Regions from separate parts of the Homo sapiens genome. Here region 1 is linked to region 2. Evidence: promoter capture Hi-C in human tissues and cell types (Jung and others, 2019). All regions are on one chromosome and are shown on one strand. The core of a region is centred on a gene start or on the middle of the fragment in contact, and the rest is flanking DNA. Distances in the headings are between cores, read along the strand shown.

Evidence for each region. Contacts are between HindIII fragments. The study calls those that stand out against the background at their distance.
Region 1: a contact is called between a fragment that was not itself captured here and the fragment with the promoter of SPIN1 in region 2, in 1 of the 25 tissues and cell types used here (stomach).

The regions. Positions count from the first base shown.
Region 1 is chr9:88,328,365-88,334,944 of GRCh38, forward strand. No RefSeq gene overlaps it. Among named protein-coding and RNA genes, the nearest start is that of SPIN1, 57 kb to the right of the region's middle. The HindIII fragment of the contact is 6,357 bases long and covers 846-6,580 here.
Region 2 is chr9:88,385,231-88,391,336 of GRCh38, forward strand. SPIN1 (spindlin 1) reads left to right here and starts at 3,214. Exons shown (of 6, transcript NM_006717.3): 1 at 3,214-3,308. LOC124902204 (a long non-coding RNA gene) reads right to left here and starts at 3,969. Exons shown (of 2, transcript XR_007061652.1): 1 at 3,882-3,969; 2 at 1-2,887. RefSeq lists an enhancer at 2,030-2,889 and a silencer at 2,967-3,866. The HindIII fragment of the contact is 12,466 bases long and covers 1-6,106 here.

The DNA of each region.
Region 1 (6,580 bases), core at 2,774-5,273, 56 kb before region 2:
TAAAGTGATTTAATGGCCGGGTGCGGTGGCTCACACCTGTAATCCCAGCACTTTGGGAGGCTGAGGTGGGAGTTTGAGATCAGCCTGGGCAACACAGTGAAACCCTGTCTCTACCAAAAAAAAAAATACAAAAAATTAGCTGGGTGTGGTGGCATACCCCTGTAGTTGCAACTACTTGGGGTGCTGAGGTGGGAAGATTGAAAGAAAGAAAGAGAGGGAGGGAGGGAGGGAGGGAAGGAAGGAAGGAAGGGAAGGAGGGAAGGAAAAAAAGAAAGAGAAAGAAAGAGAGAGAGAGGAAGGAAGGGGGGGAGACAGAGAAAGAAGAAAGAAAGAAAGAAAGAGAAAGAAAGGAAGAAAGAAGGAAAGAAAAGAAAATGGAGAGACAGAGGCAAGAGTCAAGAAATTTGTCCCAGCAGGTGGAAGACTTTGGATGAAAAATGGGATGAATGTGACAAACACTGACGGTGCTAAACAAAGGTGTTGATGCAGCACTATCAAAACCAATGGGACCTCCTACTCATACCCTACCTTAAATGGCCCTGTCTTCAGGGCCGGGCGTGGTGGCTCACGCCTGTAATCCCAGCACTTTGGGAGGCCAAGGTGGGTGGATCATCTGAGGTAGGGAGTTCGATACCAGCCTGACCAACAAGGAGAAACCCCGTCTCTACTAAAAATACAAAATTAGCCAGGCCTGGTGGCGCATGCTTGTAATCCCAGGTACTTGGGAGGCTGAGGCAGGAGAATCATTTGAATCTGGGAGGCGGAGTTGGCAGTGAACCAAGATGGCGCCATTGCACTCCAGCCTGGGCAGCAAGAGTGAAACATCATCTCACACACACACACAAAAGGGCCTTGTCTTTGTTTGTTCTGCTCTAAGGGTGTCTACAATGAGTCAAAAATCTGTAAAATATTTGAAGATAGTTACTCTGAGGCGAATATGAGTGACCAATGGCCCACGACACAGCCCTTAGGAGACCCTGAGAGCGTGTGCCCAAGGTGGTCAAGGCACAACCTAGTTTTACACATTTAAGGGAGACATGAGACATCAATCAAATACATGTAGGATATGCATTGGTTCAGTCTGGAAAGGCAGGACAAGTGGTTGAAAGAGTTAAGTTATTATCTAACGACCTGGAATGAATAGAAAGGAATGTTTGATAAAGGAATGATAAGGGGTTGTAGAGACCAAAGTTGTACCATGCAGATAAAGCCTCCAGGTAGCAGGCTTCAGTGAGAACAGACTGTAAAGGTTTCTTATTATACTTAAGATCTGTGTTGATCTTAAATGCTGGTCAGCTTTTCCTGAATCCCAAAAGACGGCAGGGTGAGGGTGTAATGAGGTATGTTCAACCCTCCCTTCCTGTCATGGCCTGAGACAACTTTGGAAAGTCCTTGGCTGAAAGGAAGGGTCCATTCAGATGGTTGGCGGGAGGGGTGGGGAGGCTTAGAATTTTGCTTTTGGTTTACAATAGAATACCACAGACTAGTTAATTTATAAAGAACAAAATTGGCTCACGTCTGTAATCCCAGCACTTTGGGAGGCAGAGGCAGGTGGCACCTGAGGTCAGGAGTTCGAGACCAGCCTGGCCAACGTGGTAGAACCCTATCTCTACCAAATATACAAAAAATTAGCCAGGCGTGGTGGTGGGCACCTGTAATCCCAGCTACTCGGGAGGCTGAGGCAGGAGAATTGCTTGAACCTGAGAGGTGGAAGTTGCAGTGAGCCGAGATGGCGCCATTGCACTCCAGCCTGGGCAACAAGAGCAAAATTCTGTCTAAAAAAAAACAAAAACAAAAACAAAACAGAACAAAATTGAATTTCATACAGTTCTGGAGGTTGAGAAGTCCAAGTTCAAGGGGCTGCATCTTGTGAGGGCCTCCTTGCTGCTTCATCCCATGGCAGAAGGTGGAAGAGCAAGAGAGTACCCAGGAGCAAGCAAGGGGAAGCAGGCTGGACTCATTCTTTTATCAGGAGCCCATTCCTGCAATAACAGCATTCATCCATTCATAAAGGCAGAGCCCTCATGACCTAATCACCTCTTATGGGTTCCACCTCCCAACGCTGCTGCATTGAGGATTAAGTTTCCAACACATAAATTTTGGGGAACACATTCACAACATAGCACAGTCAAATCAATAATTTTTATAAAACTCAAGACTGAAACCTATCTGATATTGTTTGGACTTGTGTCCCCGCCCGAATCTCATGCAAATTGTAATCCCCAGTGTGAGAGGAGGGGCCTGGTGAGAGGTGATTGGACTGTTGGGGCAGACATTCCCCCTTGCTATTCTGGTGATAGTGAGTTCTCACGAGATTTGGTTGTCTAAAAGTGTGTAGCACCTCCCCTGTCGTCCGTTTCCTCCTGCTCCAGCCATGTAGGTCATGCCTGCTTCCCTTTCACCTTCTGCCATGATTGTAAGTTTCCTGAGGCCTCCCCAGCCATGCTCACTATAGAGCCTGCAGAACCATGAGCCAATTCAACCTCTTTTCTTTATAAATTACCCAGTCTCAGGTAGTTCTTTATAGCAATGCAAGAATGAACTAATACACTACCCAGTCATTCGTTGCACAAATATGGATGAATATGGGTTGAAATACTTTGCTGGAGGGGGAGCATGCCCGATCCATGCGCCATGGAGCTTTGATGCAGGGCCAAGCTTGTGATAGATGGCTGGAATGTGAAGTCAAGAGAGCTCTAGGCACCCACCAGGAAGGTCTGGCCCTGCCTGGGCATCAAAAAAAGCTGCCTTGATAAAGTGGTGGTTACGCTGAGGTCTAAAGGACTAACAGGGCTAAGAAGGGGAAGAGGAGCAAAAGGCCATTCCAGGTGTCCTGAAAGCACTTGCAGCTTTTTTTTTTTTTTTTTTTTTTTTTGAGACGGAGTTTCGCTCTTTTTGCCCAGGCTGGAGTGCAATGGTGCGATCTCGGCTCACTGCAACCTCCGCCTCCCAGGTTCAAGCGATTCTCCTGCCTCAGCCTCCCAAGTAGCTGGCATTACAGGCATGCACCACCACCCAGGCTAATTTTGTATTTTTAGTAGACACGGGGTTTCTCCATGTTGGTCAGGCTGGTCTTGAACTCCTGATCTCAGGTGTTCCACCCACCTCTGCCTCCCAAAGTGCTGGGATTACAGGCGCGAGCCACCGCGCCCGGCCAGCACTTGTAGCTTAAAAAAAAAAACCATTTCTGAGAAGCTAACTCTGGGATATGAAGCCAGAAGAGAAGTTATTGAATAAAATGAGAAACTGGCCGGCAAGGTGGCTCACTCCTGTAATCCCAGTACTTTGGGAGGCCGAGGCAGGCGGATCACTTGAGGCCAGGAGTTCAAGACCAGCCTGGCCAACATAGTGAAAACCGTCTCTACTAAAAATACAAAAATTAACCAAGCACGGTGTTGGGCGCCTGTAATCCCAGCTACTCAAGAGGCTGAGGCAGGAGAATCGCTTGAACCTGGGAGGCAGAGATTGCAGTGAGCCGAGATCACGCCACTGCACTCCAACCTGGGCAACAGAGCAAGACCCTGTCTCAAGAAGAAAAAAAAAAGAAATTTTTGATTATGAATAGGCACATTGTCAGACTACTCAAGAATTAGTGATGCCATTTCCATGCCTTAGAAGAGATTTATTCACAGGATCCTGGGCACAGCATGCGGATTGGGTTTCATCCCCACAGTGAGCAATCTGGTAGATTCCACACTTCTACTATCCTGAAGGTTACGTTTTATCTAAGATTGGTACTCTTTTTGTAATTGCTAAAACACAATATTCAACTGCTTTTGAGTAGCTAGGTAGCTTCATACAAGATAAATTTCCTCTATCTCAATAAACAGACTGAATTTTATATCGTTTGGAAATGTTTTTGCCCCAAGATTCTATGGACATTTTTGTCACATGCGTCCGGGTGAAGACACCACCAAACAGGCTTTGTGTGAGTAACAAGGCTGTTTATTTCACCTGGGTGCAGACGGGCTGAGTCCGAAAGGAGAGTCAGCAAAGGGTGGTGGGATTATCATTGGTTCTTTTTCTTTTTTGGAGATGGAGTCTCGCTCTGTCACCCAGGCTGGAGTGCACTGGCGCAGTCTCAGCTCACTGCAAGCTCCGCCTCCCGGGTTCACGCCATTCTCCTGTCTCACCCTCCCGAGTAGCTGGGACTACAGGCACCCGCCACCACGCCCAGCTAAATTTTTGTATTTTTACTAGAGACGGGGTTTCACTGTGTTAGCCAGGATGGTCTCGATCTTCTGAACTCGTGATCTGGCTGCCTCGGCCTCCCAAAGTGCTGGGATTACAGGCCTGAGCCATCGTGCCCCCCTGATTATCATTAGTTCTTATAGGTTTTGGGATAGGTGGTGGGGTTAGGAGCAATGTTTTGTGGGCAGGGGGTGGATCTCACAAAGTACATTCTCAAGGGTGGGGAGAATTACAAAGAACCTTCTTAAGGGTGGGGGAGATTACAAAGTACATTGATCAGTTAGGGTGGGGCAGGAACAAATCACAGTGTAGGAATGTCATCAGTTAAGGCTATTTTCACTTCTTTTGTGGATCTTCAGTTGCTTCAGGCCATCTGGAGCATATCCTGCAGGTCACAGGGGATATGATGGCTTAGCTTGGGCTCAGAGGCCTGACAATTTTTTTCTCAGAATTTAGAATGTTAACTACAGGAGAAGTTAGAAGCTTTTTATTGCCAAAGAAATATTTTATAATATCTTTTATTTGAATGTATTATTTTATTACAGATGTGCCCATTTGATTTTTGCTGTTTACAGTGACGAGTATATCAGAGTACAAAATTATAATTTTTTTTCTTTTTTGAGACGGAGTCTTGCTCTGTCACCCAGGCTGGAGTGCAGTGGCACAATCTCAGCTCACTGCAAGCTCTGCCTCCCAGGTTCACGCCATTCTCCTGCCTCAGCCTCCCGAGTAGCTGGGGCTACAGGCACCCACCACCAGGCCCAGCTAATTTTTTTGTATTTTTACTAGAGACGGGGTTTCACTGTGTTAGCCAGGATGGTCTCGATCTTCTGACCTCGTGATCTGGCTGCTTCGGCCTCCCGAAGTGCTGGGATTACAGGCCTGAGCCACCGTGCCTGGCTGATTATCATTAGTTCTTATAGGTTTTGGGATAGGAGGTGGAGTTAGGAGCAATGTTTTGCAGGCAGGGGGCGGATCTCCTGAGGTCAGGAATTCGAGACCAGCCTGGCCAGGGTGGTCAGGAGTGGTGGCAGGCGCCTGTAGTCCCAGCTACTCGGGAGGCTGAGACAGGAGAATCGTTTGAACCTGGTAGGCGGAGGTTGCAGTGAGCCGAGATCACACCATTGTACTCCAGCATGGGCAACAGAGTGAGACTCCGTCTCAAAAAAAAAAAAAAGCCAGTGGTTATTGTTTGTTCGAACTATATCTGTCCATCTTATGGAACTTTCCTGTTAGTTCCACTAGTTTTTCCGTTATATAAAATGCATAAATAACCGTCATGCATTTTGTGTGTAAGACAGTCATCTATTTTATTATTCATACTCCCTGGTTTTTTCCCTCCTATTGCATTAAGCCAGCACTTTGGGAGACCTAGGTGGGTGGATCACCTGAGGTCAGGAGTTCAAGACCAGCCTGGCCAACATGGTGAAACCCCGTCTCTACTAAAAATACAAAAATTAGCCAGGTGTGGTGTCAGGCACTTCTAATCCCAGCTACTCAGGAGGCTGAGGCACAATAATCTCTTTAACCTGGGAAGCGCAGGTTGCAATTAGCCAATATTGTGCCCCTGCACTCCAGCCTGGGCAACAGTGCAAGACTCTGTCTCAGCAACAACAATTAGCGGGGCGTGGTAGCACATGCCTGTAATCCCAGCTACTCCGGAGGCCGAGGCAGAATTGCTTGAACCTGGGAGGCAGAGGTTGCAGTGAGCCGAGATCTCACCTCTGCTTTCCAGCCTAGGCGACAAGAGCAAAACTCTGTCTCAAAAAGAAAAGAAAAGAAAAGAAAATAGGCCTGCTGCGGTGGCTCATGTCTGTAATCCCAGCACTTTGGGAGGCCAAGGCAGGCTAATCTATTGAGTCTAGGAGTTTGAGACCCGGCTGGGCAACATAGTGAGGCCCCTACCCTTACAAACAATAAACAAAATTAGCCAGGCATAGTGGCATGCACCTCACCTGTGGTCCCAGAAACTCAGGAAGCTGAAGTGGGAGGATTGCTTGAACCTGGGAGGTCAAGGCTGCAGTCAGCCAAGATCACACCACTACACTCCAGCCTAGGCAAGACCCTGCCCTCTAGCCTGGGAAAGACCTGTCTCAAAAAAAAAAAAAAAAAAAAAAAGAAAGAAAGAAAAGAAAAGAAAAAAGAAAATGAAGGAAAGAAAATCTGCCAGGAAAATGTTGAAGGAGAGGAAGAATGAGAGCACACAATCCTATCACAAGTCAAAGTAGCCAACGGCATTGAAACGAAAATTAGTGGCTTTCGCACTGATGGAGGCAACTCAACAAATGGGAGTTTAGTACATGACAAAGGTCACAGTAATTTTTTATTTATTGTTGGTTTTAAAGCCAGGCTCTTGCTCTGTTGCCCAGGCCTTGACCTCATGTGCTCA
Region 2 (6,106 bases), core at 1,964-4,463:
GTTGTGTTATCTGTCTGGACCAATTCCCTAGCTTGACTTTTTTTAGAGTGTAGTGCAGGGAAATTGTTTTGCTGAATGTCTTCCAACCTGGATTTTTCTTATTTTTTTTTCCAACTTTGATTAGATTCACTTAAACATTTTTGGCAGCTATACATGGGTAATATAAAAACCCATTTGTGACATTCTAATGAGCTAATTAGCAAGGCCTTAGATGCAGCTGAGATATGTACCACTCTAGAGTGTGACCTTTACTGATATAGGGCTGGGTGACATTACTGGACTGTGCATTCTTTTATTTTTAATTTTTTTTTTTTGAGATGGAGTCTCACTCTTGTTGTCCAGGCTGGAGTGCAGTGGTGCAATCTCGGCTCACTGTAACCCCTGCCTCCTGGGTTCAAGCGATTCTCCTGCCTCAGCCTCCTAAATAGCTCGGATTACTGGTGCCTGCCACCACGGCTGGCTAATTTTTATATTTTTAGTAGAAATGGGGTTTCACCACGTTGGCCAGGCTGGTCTAGAACTCCTGACCTCAAGTGATCTGCCTGCCTCGGCCTCCCAAAGTGCTGGGATTACAGGCGTGAGCCATTGCAGCTGGCCGGCCTTTGTTTCATTTTAAAAAATTTTATTTATTTATTGTACAGTTGGGGTCTTGCTATGTTGCCCAGGCTGGTCCTGAACTCCTGGGCTCAAGCCATCCTACCACCTTGGCCTCCCAAAGTGCCGGTATTACAGGCATGAGCCACAATCCTGTGTATTTTTTTTTGAGATGGAGTTTGACTCCGTCACCCAGGCTGGAGTGCAGTGGCACAGTCTCGACTCACTGCAAACCCTGCCTCCTGGGTTCAAGCGATTCTCCTGCCTCAGTCTCTGGAGCAGCTGGGATTACAGGCGTGCACCACCACGCCTCGCTAATTTTTGTATTTTTAGCAGAGATGGGGTTTCACTGTGTTGGCCAGGCTGGTCTCAAACTCCTGACCTCAAGTGATCCACTTGCCTCGGCCTCCCAAAGTGCTGGGATTACAGGTGAGAGCCACTGTTCTTGGCCTTTTTAAAATTTTTTAAAATTTTATTTATTTTAGAGTTGGGGTCTTGCTATGTTGCCCAGGCTGGTCTCAAACTCCTGGGCTCAAGCCATCCTCCAGCCTCAGCCTCCCAAAGTGTTGGGATTACAGGTGTAAACCACAGTCCTGTGTATTCTCAATAGCTCCCAATGAGATCATCACCAGTGGCAAATTTTAAATCAGGGGTTGGGGATGGAGATGAAGGTGGGGCCACATATTTGACTTTGAAGACGTTTTCCGTGAATTTTGGAGGAGTGTGTGTGCTACTGGCATCTAGTGGGTGGAGGCCAGGGATGCTGTCAAACATCCTACAAAGCATGGAACAGACCCCACATGAAAGGATTATCCCATCCCAAAAGCCAACACTGCTGAGGTGGAGAAACCCAGGGATCTCGCCAATGAGATGAAATCTTCCAACCAGCAGACTTCTTGGCACCTACCTTCTTCCCATCCCTCTTTGTTTCGGAGATGACCCCACTGCAAGACATTAAACAGGCCAGGCGCGGTGGCTCACGCCTGTAATCCTAGCACTTCAGGAGGCCGAGGCCAGCGGATTGCTGGAGGCCAGGAGTTTGAGACCGGCCTGGCCAACATGGCGAAACCCCGTCTCTACTAAAAATATTTTTAAAAATTAGCTGGACATGGTGGTGCGCGCCTGTAATCCCAGCTACTCGGGAGGCTGAAATGTGAGGATTGCTTGAACCCAGGAAGCGGAGGTTGCAGTGGGCCGAGATCATGCCACTGCACTGCAGCCTGGGGAACAGAGTGAGACTCCGTCTAAAAAAACAAAAAAGACATTAAACACACAAATGAAAGTGAGTAATTTCTCAACACTTGGTAACTTGTAAGTACAGCGATACACTTTTATATCTCAGTTTTGAAATTAGCTCTCTAGTTGGCCTGTGAACGTCCCATGCCTGCCAAGTGTGTCATCTGAGACAAGCACTTCAATTTGTTTGAGCAGGCATCTATCAATCTTATTTGTTAGAAAAGGTGCCAGTGAAACCCCAAAGAGTATTGCTAACTAATAACTGTGCTGCAGTTTAGAGTGTTCAAGGTGCTTTCCAGTAACATGTTCTGGAATTTGATCTGACAACGCTTTGGGAGGCGGTTTATTACGATGAGGCTGCGCTGTCGCACTCGAGGAACCAGGTCAGTGACCTGCTCCAGGACACGGGACTGGCGGGGAGGGGAGAGCGCCTGGACTCAGCCTCCAAGTCTCGCACTCGACTCTGCAGGAGTAAAAACTATTCTTGATCCTACCTCTCTCCCTTCTGCAAACAAGCAACAAAATGCTGAAAAGGCATCTTAACTGAAACGGAAGTCAAATGAATTCGCGTGCGATCATGGGAATTTTTGGCTCCTAACCTTGCGAGTAGAGCTGGGTGAGTTCCATTTGTGGTGGGGGAGTGGAAACAGGTTTCTGGGCTTGCAGAAGCCACATCCCGTCCCCACACAACCTAGGACAGGCCAGGTACTTGTAGGTGAGGCTCCGGGGCTCCAGCTAACCTGAGCTACCTGGGCTGGGCTTTGTGCGGGGAGGCAGCAAGCGGGGTGAGCCGGCGACGACGCCGGCCTCTACGCAGTGCGGTGGTGAAGACGTCTCTTCCAGGGAGTCACAGGAAGCAAATCCATCCTTTTAAAGGGCTCGCGTCCCGCGGCCCTGAACCGGCGCGCTGGAGCAGTAATGCGACGTTCTCCGAGGTTCAAGGCTCACGGCCCAGCCCTGTGATCCAGTTTCCTCAGTCTTCGCGGTGTGCACCACTCAGGACGACTTGCGGCTTACGTCCAGGACAAAGGGGGCTTGTCCTTTCTTCAACGTCCTACTGCGCAAAAACGAAGCCCTTCTCAGGCTGCCTGCCTTCCAGGAAAAGCTGCGCCCCCTCAGGAACCTGTGCCCCGCGCGCCTGCCGCCGCCCATTCCCGGCGCGCACCTGGCAGTCCCGGGCTCGAGCCCCGCCCTGCCGCCAGCCAGGTGAGAGGGGCCAGGCCCCGCCCTCGCCGGCCCCGCCCCGCCCCACTGCGCCTGCGCAGTCGGCCGTCGGCGCCAGGCGCCGGGGCGGCGCGGCCGTCGCAGTTCGGCGGGCGCAGTGCGCGTGCGCCCTGACTGTTGGGGGGCGGGCGGCGTCCGCGGCGAGGGAGCGGGGGCGGGGAGGCGCCGTCTGGCTCAGGCTGGGGCCGGCGGGAGCGCGAACGAGCGACGGCGGAACCCGTGGGCCTGTGGACTGCAGCCTCGGCGGTCAGCAGGTGAGGCCCGCGCAGGGCGGGCGTGGGTCGTGAGGGAGTGCGGGCTGCGGGCGGGCCAGCGGTGCGGCGGTCTGCCCGGGGGCGCAGGTGAGCGCGGCCCGCGCGGGGCCCGGCGGAGCATTGTCCAGCGGGCGGCGCCCGCATAGCGCCCCCTGCCGGCTGGGCCGCGGCGGGGACCCGGGCTGGGCGGGCCTGGGCCTCGGGGCGGGCGCGCGCTCCTTTGTTCGCCGGCCCCTACTCCTCCGTGCCCCCATCCCCGCCGCCCCCCGCCAACATGGCCGCCACCCTCTCGTCCCCAGTTCCCCGGCCGCCGCCGGCCCCTTAGCGCGCGCTTTGTTTGGAGCCGGGCGGGGAGGCCGGCGGGCAGGGGGCGGCGGCGCTGCGCAGTCGGGCGCGGGGAGGGGGCGCTGCGCCAGAATGCAGGCGGGGAGGGGGAACGTTGCATAATCCCGGGCCGGCGACGGGGGCGGGGCGGGGGGAGGGGCGGGACCCCGGCGCGACGGGTCGGGTCACCCCGGGGACGCGGGCCTGCCCTGGGGCCACCCCTCCCAGGCCCGGGGGATGGCCGCGGACCTTGTAAGTTGCAGGCTCCGCGGTTCGCGGCGCCGGAACGCCCACCGGCCAGTCCTCGCGCCCGCGCAGCCCCTTTCCTGATGCGCCGTCTCTTCGCCGCCCTCCGTGGGGGCGCGGCGAACGGGTTGCGTGCTCTGGAGAGAGACAGGCACTTTTCCTCTCCATCGTGAGTGACCTTGGGTGTATTCGTCAAGGAATGTGTTGAAACGAATTGTGCGATGCGGGAACTGCGCAGCGCCTCGGGTTTGGCTTTCTCGAGCATTTTATTGCATTGATTGTGCGTTCTCGATTTTACAGAGGTTCGTTTTGAGTAATGGCTTCAGTAATGTCATCGTATACGCATTTCAAAGTTTGTTTATGGAATTGTTTTTACATTTATTCTCTTTTTACTTATAATTTTTGAATCAGATTTTGTGTTTTGGAGAGATTTTCCGTACGTGGTGGAAGTGTTTTCACTCATGGTAAATATGGATTGTTTGGCAATTTTATCACGTTAATCACAAAACAATACCAGGAACATTTAAATGTCTTAAAGGATTTCACTCTACATGACTTGTGCCAGAGACGACACACGTACCAAAACGCGATTACCTGTCTTAACTTTTTTTCTATTGGAATTTTCTGGAAGGAATTCCATGCAATCCGAAAGGATTAATGGAGGGTACAGTAATTGCTTTCTACATCGCTTTTGTTAAGCAGTGAAAATTAAACTTGGAGATTTATACCTGGATATACTGAGTTTTTTTTAACACTCTTTTGAAGTGAAATTTTGGAAAGGGCAGGTGAAATGAGGCTTCTTCCAACCTCCCCACTCTCCCCCCTCAGCTTTAGTTAAAAGGCAAACACCAAAATATTGTAGTACCTGGTAATTTACAGAACGTTCGTTATCAGATTTGATAATTATATATTAAGGTTGTAAAGAATGTGTATGCCAGAATTATAGGTAGTAGATCCTAGATTCTTAGGAAAAATAGTTTCTTTATAATCTTTTGAGTAGTGAAATGGTTACTTTTACAATGGTTATGAACTGGGTCAAGGCAAAAGGGCCACTATATGTCTTCAGTCATCTTTCTATGCCTGAAATCCAGGAAACAGTGAAAATGGATGTTCCCTGGAACAGCCATTGCGATGCCATATGTTGGTCATTGGTGTCCTTAAAGTGTATCTCAGATAATTGTGTGTCTCCCTTACTTGTGAACTGAGGGGTCACAATATTGATGTGCCTGATGTGTGCCCCTCTGCATTTCGTGGGTAGTGTCTCAAATTTGGCTATCATATTGATGAGAGTTACTAATTTGGTTTTAGCTGCCAGAGGTTTAGGTGGTTTTCACTTCCAGTGACTTACCTGATTGCACATAGTTACAACGTTACTGGTTGCACTCCTTCATTGCTAGCATCTTTTTTCTAGTATATTCGATATACATTCTTTTGGTTTATCCTTTAAAATATTTGCTGAGATAGCATTTAAATGTTAATGCTGTATTTATATTTGTTGGATGCTTAATTCAATGTGTCTTCTTTCCCTTTCCATGAATGAAAAGAAATTGGAAGAAGAGAATCAACTATTTCGTGCAAGTATTTTGTTCAGTTTAGAAGATGTTATGGTATTGTGAAAACAATATTCTGGAGTTAGACATGGAATCACAATGGCCTTCCAAGTCAGAACAGTCTGGGTTGAAATTGACTCCTTACTGGTCCAAAGCCACATAACTGATTCATCATGCAGCCTTTTTTTAAAAAAAGTTTTTTTTTAAAGCTACTCAAATATGTCAGTTTTATTTTCTCTGTACACACATTTGTTACTGAAAATTGCAAAAACAGCACATTGAAGGTCCTCTTATTGGAGTTCACATTTTTGAAAACCAGAAAATTTAATAATTATGCTCTTGCCAAACTACCCACTGTTTTCTTTATATTCTTGCCCCACAAGTTGCTTTACTTGAACTCTTGGGTTGGGCTTCATCTCACTGACTTCAGGCTTCTAACACACATAGGACACTTAGGACCTACTGGCTCTTTGGGTCACATCAGGGAGGAGAGCTGAAGTATGTTGAAGTTACTCAAATACATTCAAGCTACATAGATCTCTGATAAATTATTGGTGGTATGGTAGAAATGAAAATATACCCAAAAAAATCACAGAACTGTTTATTAAAATTATTGGTATACAGGCTCTTCTAACATAGATTAGCTTTCTCAACCTAATACATAAAATTACCAGCAAG